Linked DNA regions of Homo sapiens: region 1 is linked to region 2. Evidence: promoter capture Hi-C in 16 types of primary human blood cells and fetal thymus (Javierre and others, 2016). All regions are on one chromosome and are shown on one strand. Each heading gives the region's core, a stretch centred on a gene start or on the middle of the fragment in contact. The rest is flanking DNA. Distances are from core to core; before and after follow the strand shown.

Region 1 (5,222 bases), core at 2,469-4,968, 2.0 Mb before region 2:
GGGTTCTGTTTTCTGATTCTACTGAGGCAATTAAAAAGACCATCAGGGCCAAAGTAAAACTTTGCTTTTGGTGTCTTTTTAATATTTGTAATGTGCAAAATAGCATTTTACTGTTTAGTTTCTATATTCAAGGCATTAATGCATTATAACCATGAACATTACATAAAATCCTAAAATGAAATATTCATTCAAACATATTAGATGTATTAGTCCATTTTCACCCTGCTGATAAAGACATACCCAAGACTGAGCAATTTACAAAAGAAAGAGGTTTAATTGGACTTACAGGTCCACGTGGTTGGGAAAGCCTCACAACCATGGCAGAAGGCAAGGAGGAGCAAGTCACATCTTGTGTGGATGGTGGGACAGAAAATGAGAGAGCTTGTGCAGGGGAACACCTCTCTTAAAAACCATCACATCTCATCAGACTTATTCACTATCATGAGAACAGCATGGGAAAGACTTGCCCCCATGATTCAATTACCTCCCAGCAGGTCCCTCCCACAACACGTGGGAACTCAAGATGAGATTTGGGTGGGGACACAGCCAAACCATATCATTAGATGTCACAAATTCAAAAAATTTTACAATAGTTGTAAAAATTACCTTCTTTAATGAACATATTCATAAGTAAAGTTACTGAAAAAAGACTATAGGGAACACATAGATTTAGCCTACCTAAAAGCATAGATTAAAAAAATAATTTAAGTAAATTGTTTTGGGGTAGCTCATAAGCAATGAACTTTTAAACTCATTATTTCAGGACTTCCACCTGACAATAACCTTTAGTATAATAAGATTGTTTCAAAGACGTTTTTATTTTATTGCCAAATGTTTACTTATTTTTAGGGCAAAATAGGTCTTATGACTTGATGGCTTGTGTGTGTGTGTGTGTGTGTGTGTGTGTGTGTGGTAGCGGTACATATATATGTCTCCAACCACCATTAGGAAACAGGTCAAAATGACCATATTTCCACGTATATTCTTATACAGTATGGAAATACTCACCTAGGTAGGTACATGGGTATGCATGTTCAAGAAAATGAAGAATAGAAAGAATTAAGGAAAGATTATCTTCCTCCTTTTGTAATTTTTATTATTTTACTTTTTGTTTCAATCGCTTTTGGGGAACAGGTGGTTTTTGATTACATGGATAAATTCTTTAGTGGTGATTTAGTGGTGATCATGGGGTGCACCTGTCACCGAGCAGTGTACACCCCCTCCCACCCTCCCCCACAAGACCCCATAGTCCATTATATCATTCTTATGCCTTTGCATCCTCATAGCTTAGCTCCACTTATAAGTGAGAACATACAATTTCTATTCCTGAGGTACTTCACTTAGAATAACAGCCTCCAACCCCATCTAAGTTGCTGCAAATGTTGTTTCATTCCTTTTTATGGCTATGTCTTTCTCTTCAACATTCTCTACAAATGCACTTGCACCTAAAGGTATATGATTGGGCAAATTCTGTACCTATCATAGGCTGTAACTTGGTCTCTAATTTCACACATGAAATCTTTTTTCATTCACTTGGAGTTAATTCAGTGAGGATAGACACTGTCCTTCCCTTGTTCCCCAAGCATCAGCAAAGTGTTTAGTTAATCTCCCATTAAATATTGAATAGAAAAACCTTCATTTTCAGAAACTCTTCTTTATGAGGTCCTAATATATGCCATGTGCTCTGCTAAGTGCTCTTTGGAGACTCTTTTATTTAAGCCTTGCAACAATACTAGGAGGAAGGTATTTCACCCATTTTAATAATGAAGAAACTGAGCTTAGTAATATACTCAAGTTCTTAGATCTAGGAATAAATCTGGGATTTAAATTAAAATCTGTCTAAATCTATGTTCCTATCTACTGTTAAGTGTGGCTTCCAAAAAAGTGTGGGCAGAATCTAAGGGTGGGTGTGTCCTCATGCTTACAAGACTCTCTGCAGTCTGTGAAGATGGAGAGGCAGCGAGAAGGGAAAGAATGATCTCTGGGTGGAACTTGCCTCTCCCATCGCCACCATGGCCCAGCAAGAAACACTTCAGTCCAGATTTCCCTTCTCTTGAGTATTGAGTATGCAGAATAATGCCCCACCCACACCACGAAAGATGTCCAAGCCTCAATCCCTGGGACCTGTGAATATCTTATGTTCCATGGCAAAGGGGAATTAAGGTCACAGATGGAATTAGGGTTGTTAATCAGCTACCCTTAAAATAGGCAGATGGGACTTTATCCTGGATTACTGTAAGTGGTCTCAATATAACCAGCAAGGGTTTTTCAGTGGAGAAGAGAAAGACAAAAGAGAGCAAACCAGAAAGATAGCAATGTGAGTAGGACTGGAGCCATGTTGCTGGTTTTGAAGATAGAAGAAGGGGCCCTAAGCCAAAGAATGCAGACAACCTCCAGAGGCCGGAAGAGGTGAGGGAACAGACGCTCCCCTAGAGCCTCCAGAAGACACCAGCATGCCGACACCTTGGTTTTCGGCCCGTGAAACCTATTTTAAATTTCTGACCTCCAGAACAGTAAGATAATAAAAGTGCGTTGTTTTAAGCCACTAAATTTGTGGTAATTTGTTACAACAGCCACATTAGATGATTAATACTAGCACTGGTTGGTGTCTTGCAGCTTCAGAATGTATATTTTATAATGGGGCGGTGAGACCTCCTTCCGCTCAACTTGTACACAGAGGCACTCAGCACACATCCCTCAATGGGTGATCTCATTCCAGCACGTGCGCTGGGCAATCAGTACCAGAGGCAGTTCTGCCATGGCTTAGTGCATACGTCATCTTTGGTGGGACAAAAATTGTGTATGCAGATCTAAAAACATGATCAAAAGCAAGTCTATCCTAACATTTCTGTCAATTTACCAGGGGTATCCAATCTTTTGGCTTCCCTGGGTTACATTGGAAGAATTGTCTTGGGCCACACATAAAATATACTAACACTAACGATAGCTAATGAGCTTAAAAAATTGCAAAAATACTTACAATGTTTTAAGAAACTTTATGAATTTGGCCACATTGAGAGCTGTCCTAAGCCGCATATGGCCTGTGGGCCACAGGTTGGACAAGCTTTATTTAGATCATGCCGAAGGAGCACAGTTCCATGAGGAGGGAGGATGGGGAGCATGTGGTGTGTTTGCATACAATTTTAATTTCTGGATGTTTCAAGTCATATTCTGAGCACTGAAGGTAGGCCTAACTCACTTATCTGCTACACAAAATATGACCAAGTGGGGTACACATATGTAGGAGAGGTGTACAGGAGAAGCGGTGCGTGCATATATGGAAGCAAAGGAATGAAGTTGATGTAGATTTTTATAGAATCACAATGTTTAGAAGCAATATTTAAATATCAATTAATTACCAATACCCCCCCCAAAAAAAGAATGAAGACACCAGAAAAGGTATTATTTGTAATTAACTATGTAGCCACTAGATGGCAGTACAGTGTAAGCAAAAGGAAAATCTATTCCCTCAGCCCAAGCTTCTCTGGCTGCTGTTAAAGGATGTTTTACCGCTGTTTCAGGAGAAAAGGAGGAAATTCAGTCATGTTAAGGCAGTCAACTTAGAGGGCCAGGACTGTTCTAGATGGACTCCCGGGCTAGAAAGAGCATGGACTCTATGTGTCTCAGCTCCTCTAATTCCTATCTATGAGATCCTGGCAAGTTGCTTAACATCACAAGGCCTCAGTGTTCACATTTATATAATGGGTGTGAATGTTATTTTTCTTACAAGGGAAAGAAAAATGAAGTAAAACGGAGTAATATTATTAAAATACTTAAGATTTAATAAGCAGTCGATTATTAATAGCTCTGTGTCTCCTTTGGGTAGGGAAAAATAATACAATTTAGATTTTAGGTCCTAAACTAATCTCCAGGTATGGTTGTGAGGAAATTATGGGTCTTGAAAAGTAAAGAGAGAAGATTTATTCTTTACTCTGCTTCAATGTGGCTAAAGCTTCCCTGCAAAGTGTCACAATAACCTTCTCTTCATGTTCTCAAATGCAGTTGCTCCCCTCCCCATCTCTCCTTGACACGTGAAGTTCCTCTCCTATGAGGAGCATTGCCAAGTTTCGAGAGGTCTGCAATGTTGGACTAACAGTCATGGCCTTCGCACAGGCAGGAGGTCACAGCAGGGACTCCAGTGCTCACCACTTCCCTCTTCCTACATCTGCCTTTAGTTTATGAATGCATGAGAATTTCATAGTGAGTTAATGGAAGCCCTCCCAAAATATGTCCACATAGAACCCGTGAATGTGACCTAATTTAGAAAAGAAAACAAAAGGTATTTGAAGACGTAATGAAGTTAAGAATCCTGAGATGAGCTCATCCTGTATTATCCAGGTGAGTTCTAAATCCAATGGCCAGTGTCCTTAGAAAGGCACAGGGAGATGTGTGACAGAGAGGATTCGGCCATATGAAGACAGGGGCAGAGATTGCAGTGGCGTGATCACAAACCCAGGAACACCCGAGCCGCCAGAAGCCTGAAGAGGCAGGGAAGGATTCCCCTCTAGAGCTTCTGGGAGGTGCGTGGTTCTGCCAACACCCTAATTTCAGAATCCTGTATGCCACAACTCTAAGTAAATATTATAAATTCTTATCATGCTAAGCTACCAAATTTGTGGCCTTTTGAAATGGTAACTCTAGGAAACTAGTACAGGTTTATATCAAGAAAATTCCTGTCCCCATGTATTTTTCCAGTGTGCTAGAAATTCCATGATTAGCAAATTTATTCCTTTGGTTTAAATTGCAGATTCTTTTAAAATAAAATACATGAGATCCTGGGAAAGGTGTCCTATTTTAGAGAATGAATGTTCACACCACAGCCTCTGTGAATGGATGGCTCATATCTACAGAAAAGCACTGGATACTAGGAAGGAAACAATTCTAAAGGGTTGTAGGGTTGTAGGGCACTGGCTCTAGCAGACCAGCTTGCCTTGCTGCAAGACAACTTGTCTGGCGTTTGACCCAGAGGTTCCTCATTACTTCAATGGTCTTCAATGAAAGAAGCCAAAGTTTGGAGAAACCCCAAAGAGTATTGCCTTTAGACCCATCTAAGACCCCACACTGGACTAATTTCTGGAGGCCCCTTGCCATCGAGGATGTGCCCATGGGGCCAGTGGAACATGTCCCCAGAATTAGCATCTTCCCCTCCCAGCCAGTGATACAGGTGGTGCCCAGATCCCAGAATTATTCACCCACATGGCCTCCCAGCCCTTCCCCAAGTC
Region 2 (4,643 bases), core at 1,283-3,782:
GAATCAACTTGTATGAAACCTTGTCAAAATGTACTCCACAAGTATGTACAATTAAGTATTTTAAAAATAAATGGCAAACATTAAAAACAAGAGTGAATACTCAAGTAGATTTGTCATGGGATTTTTATAAGAAGACTGGTATCAGGTAATGTATCTTTAAAGACTAGGCTGCTCTGCTGACGTAGTAACCATTTTTTATTCCTTTACTTTCCTAATAGCCTTGCTTTCACTTAAGAAAAAAAAAGGCTAGGCACGGTGGCTCACGCCTGTAATCCCAGCACTTTGGGAGGCCAAGGTGAGTAGATCACCTGAGGTCAGGAGTTCGAGACAAGCCTGGCCAACGTGGAGAAAACCTGTCTCTACTAAAAGTACAAAAATTAGCCAGGCATGGTGGTGGGCACCTGTAATCCCAGCTACTCAGGAGGTTGAGGCAGGAGAATTGCTTGAACCCAAGAGGTGGAAGTTGCAGTGAGCTGAGATCATGCCACTGCCCTCCAGCTTGGGCGGCAACAACAACAACAAAAAAAGATTCCCAGGCTTCACCCTCTACAGTCTATGGAAAGTCATGGGAGTCTATTAAAAAAAAACAGACACTATAAACCAAATTAAAAGATGGGAAAATTTTTCTATCACGTTTTAATATGTGATATCCAAACTCCCATTAAGAATTTTTATATCAGTAATAAGATAAAACTCAGAAGAAAAATGCCCAATTAACAAGAAGAGCTTCACCTCTTAAATAATCAGAAAAAGAAAAGCACATAATATTTACGTCAAAGTATCAAAAATGTAAAAGTTTTATAATAGGCATTAGCAAGGCAGACGGATACAGGCACACATCTAACTCTATGTAGGATTTAACTTGGAAGACAATTTGCATTTCAATCAATCAAAAACCATTTTTTTTTTTGAGATGATCTCCCTGTGTTGCCCAGACTGGCCTCAAGCTCCTGGGCTTGAGCAGTCCTACAGTCTGAGCCTCCAAAAGTACTGGCAAAACAGGCGTGATTGACCATGCCCAGCCTGTATATAAGGATATTCATTTGCAGCATTGTTTGCAACACAAAAATGTAAAACCAACCGGTGTTTAATATGCAAGATGTTAATTTATGGTACATTCTTGCTGTGGAAAGCTATGCATCTGTTAGAGGTGGGTCTATATGTTCTGATACAGGCAGAACTCTAAGAGCTATTAAGTGAAGAAAAGGCTGAAAATACATATGGCATAATTCCATATATGTTAAATTGTTCTATATTTTAAATGTTATACACGTTTCCATTTGTATTTACGTAATAATAATGATCCCTGAGCTGTACTGTTGTATACATGCTACAAGAAAGACCCATTTAATCCCCACAGCCTATGATGAATTATCCACATTCTACAGGTGACAAAATAGAGGCACAAAGTTAAGTAATTTTTGTCAGGTGAGATTTAAACCCAGGCATTCTGACTCCTGTATAACCATTAAGATATGCAGAGAAAGAAAACTGGAAAGATACATATTGCTGAAGATACTTATTATAGGAAGAGGAGGGGGGAGGGTGAAGGAATTTGCAAGTTTTTCATAGATGTTTCCATATTGTTTGAATCTCTTACAAAATATGTTCAGCATATTTTTAAAGAGAAAATTTGGGGCAAAATACTTATTTTTGTATTATGTAAACAAATTTTAAAATAATGTGTGGCTGGGTGCGCTGGCTCACACCTGTAATCCCAACACTTTAGGAGGCTGAGGCAAGAGGATTGCTTGAGCCCAGGAGTTCAAGACCAGCCTGGGTGACATGGCAAAACTCCATCTCTACTAAAAATACAAAAAATTAGCCAGTCGTGGTGGCGCACACCTATGGTCCCACCTACCCAGGATGCTGAGATGGGAGGATCACTTGAGCCCAGGAAGTCAAGGCTGCAGGAAGCTGTGATCGCACCACTGCACTCCCACCTGGGCAACAGAGTGAGACCCGGTCACCAAAAAACAAAAAAAACAAAAAAAATTGGTAATCGTTTTCTTCAGACATTTTCCGGGTTCCTCTGCTTAACTTGTATAGGAAGTCTGAGGTTTTTGTGTTGGTCTTTACCTTTTTTTTTTTTTTTTTTTTTTAAGATGGAGTCTCATTCTGTTGCCCAGGCTGGAGTGCAGTGGCATGATCTTGGCTCCTGCAACCTCCGCCTCCTGGGTTCAAGTGATTCTCCTGCCTCAGCCTCCTGAGTAGCCGGGACTACAGGCGCATGCCACGATGCCTGGCTAATTTTTTGTATTTTTAGTAGAGATGGGGTTTCACCATGTTAGCTAGGACGGTCTCGATCTCCTGACCTCGTGATCCGCCCACCTCGGCCTCCCAAAGTGCTGGAATTACAGGTGTGAGCCACCACGCCCGGCCCTGATCTTTACATTTTTAAATATTGCATTAGTGAACCGTGTACTGATTTTGTGATCATAGATAACCCAGTTAAATATTAAGTCTTAATTATCACTTAGTATTTTACAACCTCAGTTGCAGTTATAAAGTAAGGGTTCCACATACCTCCTAACAGTTCCTAGAAAATGGAGCTGTCTTGGCATGTAGTCTTTATTGCCCTGCTAAGTTTTTCATGCTGGGGGTCAGACTGGGAGTCTGATAGAAATTTCATTTCCACCGCTGGTCCTCTAACCAATGACTTGCTGCACAACCTGAGTGGTCTCCTGGGAGACCAGAGTTCTAACTTTGTAGCAGGGGACAAAGACATGTATGTTTGTCACCAGCCACTGCCCACTTTCCTGCCAGAATACTTCAGCAGTCTCCATGCCAGTCAGATCACCCATTATAAGGTATTTCTGTCATGGGCACAGCTCCTCCCAGCAGGAAGCACCCAGAATCCAGACGAGAAAACAGTGCAGTGCTACCGGCGACTCCTCAAGGCCCTCAAGACTGCACGGCTTCAGCCCATGGTCATCCTGCACCACCAGACCCTCCCTGCCAGCACCCTCCGGAGAACCGAAGCCTTTGCTGACCTCTTCGCCGACTATGCCACATTCGCCTTCCACTCCTTCGGGGACCTAGTTGGGATCTGGTTCACCTTCAGTGACTTGGAGGAAGTGATCAAGGAGCTTCCCCACCAGGAATCAAGAGCGTCACAACTCCAGACCCTCAGTGATGCCCACAGAAAAGCCTATGAGATTTACCACGAAAGCTATGCTTTTCAGGGTGAGTACACATTGACCTGATGGTGACCCCTCGGCAACCTTCATCACACACCTTCCCCATCCTCCTTAGAGCAGATTCGACATTTCTCCCAACTCACCTTCAGCAGTCCTCTTATGTCTGTGCATAGGGAGAAATTAATATTGTAAATTGATTTCCCACTGGCGATAGGAAGGGGTAGCTAACATGGCAAAACACTCAGCATTTCCTTTGAAAAATATCTTTGAGGCTCACGCCTGTAATCCTAGCACTTTGGGAGGCCGAGGTGGGCGGATCACTTGAAGTCAGGAGTTCGAGACCAGCCTGGCCAATATGGCAAAACCCCGTCTCTACTAAAAATACCAAAATTAGCCAGGGATGGTAGCAGGCGCCTGTGATCCCAGCTACTCGGGAGGCTTAGGCAGGAGAATTGCTTGAACCCAGGAGGCAGATGTTGCAGTGAGCCGAAATCATGCCACTGTACTACAGCCTGTGCGACAGAGCAAGACACAATCTCAAAAAAAAAAAATATGTATACATATATATATATATATATATATATATATATATATATATACACACATGTATTTTTGAAATACCCCTTGCCCAGTCTTGAGTTGTGCAAGCACTGATTGTCTTTCTGTCTTCCTTTCCGTCTATGTCCTGCTACCCTGACTTGGAGGCAAAGTTTCGTGGTTTCCTGTCCTTCCCCCTCGGCTCCCCTATACTTACATGTCTTAGTTGGAGCTTACATTGCAGCTTGGGAGACAGACAAATACAAGATGAAACAATTATATATCACAGGATGAGGAGAGCACAACTGTAACTGTTCACATTCCTGCCTCCTAGGGGACTTGAAGTTCTGATCTGTAGGCCTAGGCTGAACCAGGACATTTGTGATTATAATCAATTCCCTAAGTGTATGTTAGGTACACCAATTTTGAGAATCAATTTTGGATTATATATGCTTTCTTGTTTTTATTATATACCATATACATACATATTTGTATATATAGTACCTGATATATATATATATATATATATATATATATATATATATATATATATATACTTCTATGTTCTACTTTTTCATTTTAACATAGTTTATGACTATATTCTCATTTTATTAAAAACTTGAGCCAGGCATGGTGGCTCATGCCTATAATCCCAGCACGTTAGGAGGCCAAGGCAGGGGGATTGCTTGAGGCCAGGAGTTGGAGACCAGCCTGGGCAACATAGAGAGCCACTATCTCTAAAATAATATAATAATTTACTCCAGTGCTGGAATAGTATTGCTTAAAACAAAAGAAAAACTTGAAAGCATAACTTTCAATGGTCTTTTAGGTTCCCATTGTATAAATGGAGCATAAAGTTTAAGGTATTTTCCTTATTTTTGTATGTTTATTCTAATTTTCACTAGTTACAAGTTATGTTGCAATGACATTCCTATCTATAAACTATTTCCCACCTTCTGATAAATT

The links. Contacts are between HindIII fragments. The CHiCAGO score rates a contact against its expected background, and 5 or more counts as called.
Region 1: a fragment that was not itself captured here is called in contact with the fragment with the promoter of LCT in region 2 in 1 of 17 cell types (naive CD8 T cells); the score reaches 7.9 in naive CD8 T cells.

The regions. Positions count from the first base shown.
Region 1 is chr2:137,836,886-137,842,107 of GRCh38, reverse strand. No RefSeq gene overlaps it. Among named protein-coding and RNA genes, the nearest start is that of HNMT, 120 kb to the left of the region's middle. The HindIII fragment of the contact is 473 bases long and covers 3,482-3,954 here.
Region 2 is chr2:135,835,073-135,839,715 of GRCh38, reverse strand. It overlaps LCT (lactase), which reads left to right and starts at 2,532. Exons shown (of 17, transcript NM_002299.4): 1 at 2,532-3,186. The coding sequence starts at 2,547. MCM6 (minichromosome maintenance complex component 6) reads left to right here. Exons shown (of 17, transcript NM_005915.6): 17 at 1-90. The HindIII fragment of the contact is 13,164 bases long and covers 1-4,643 here.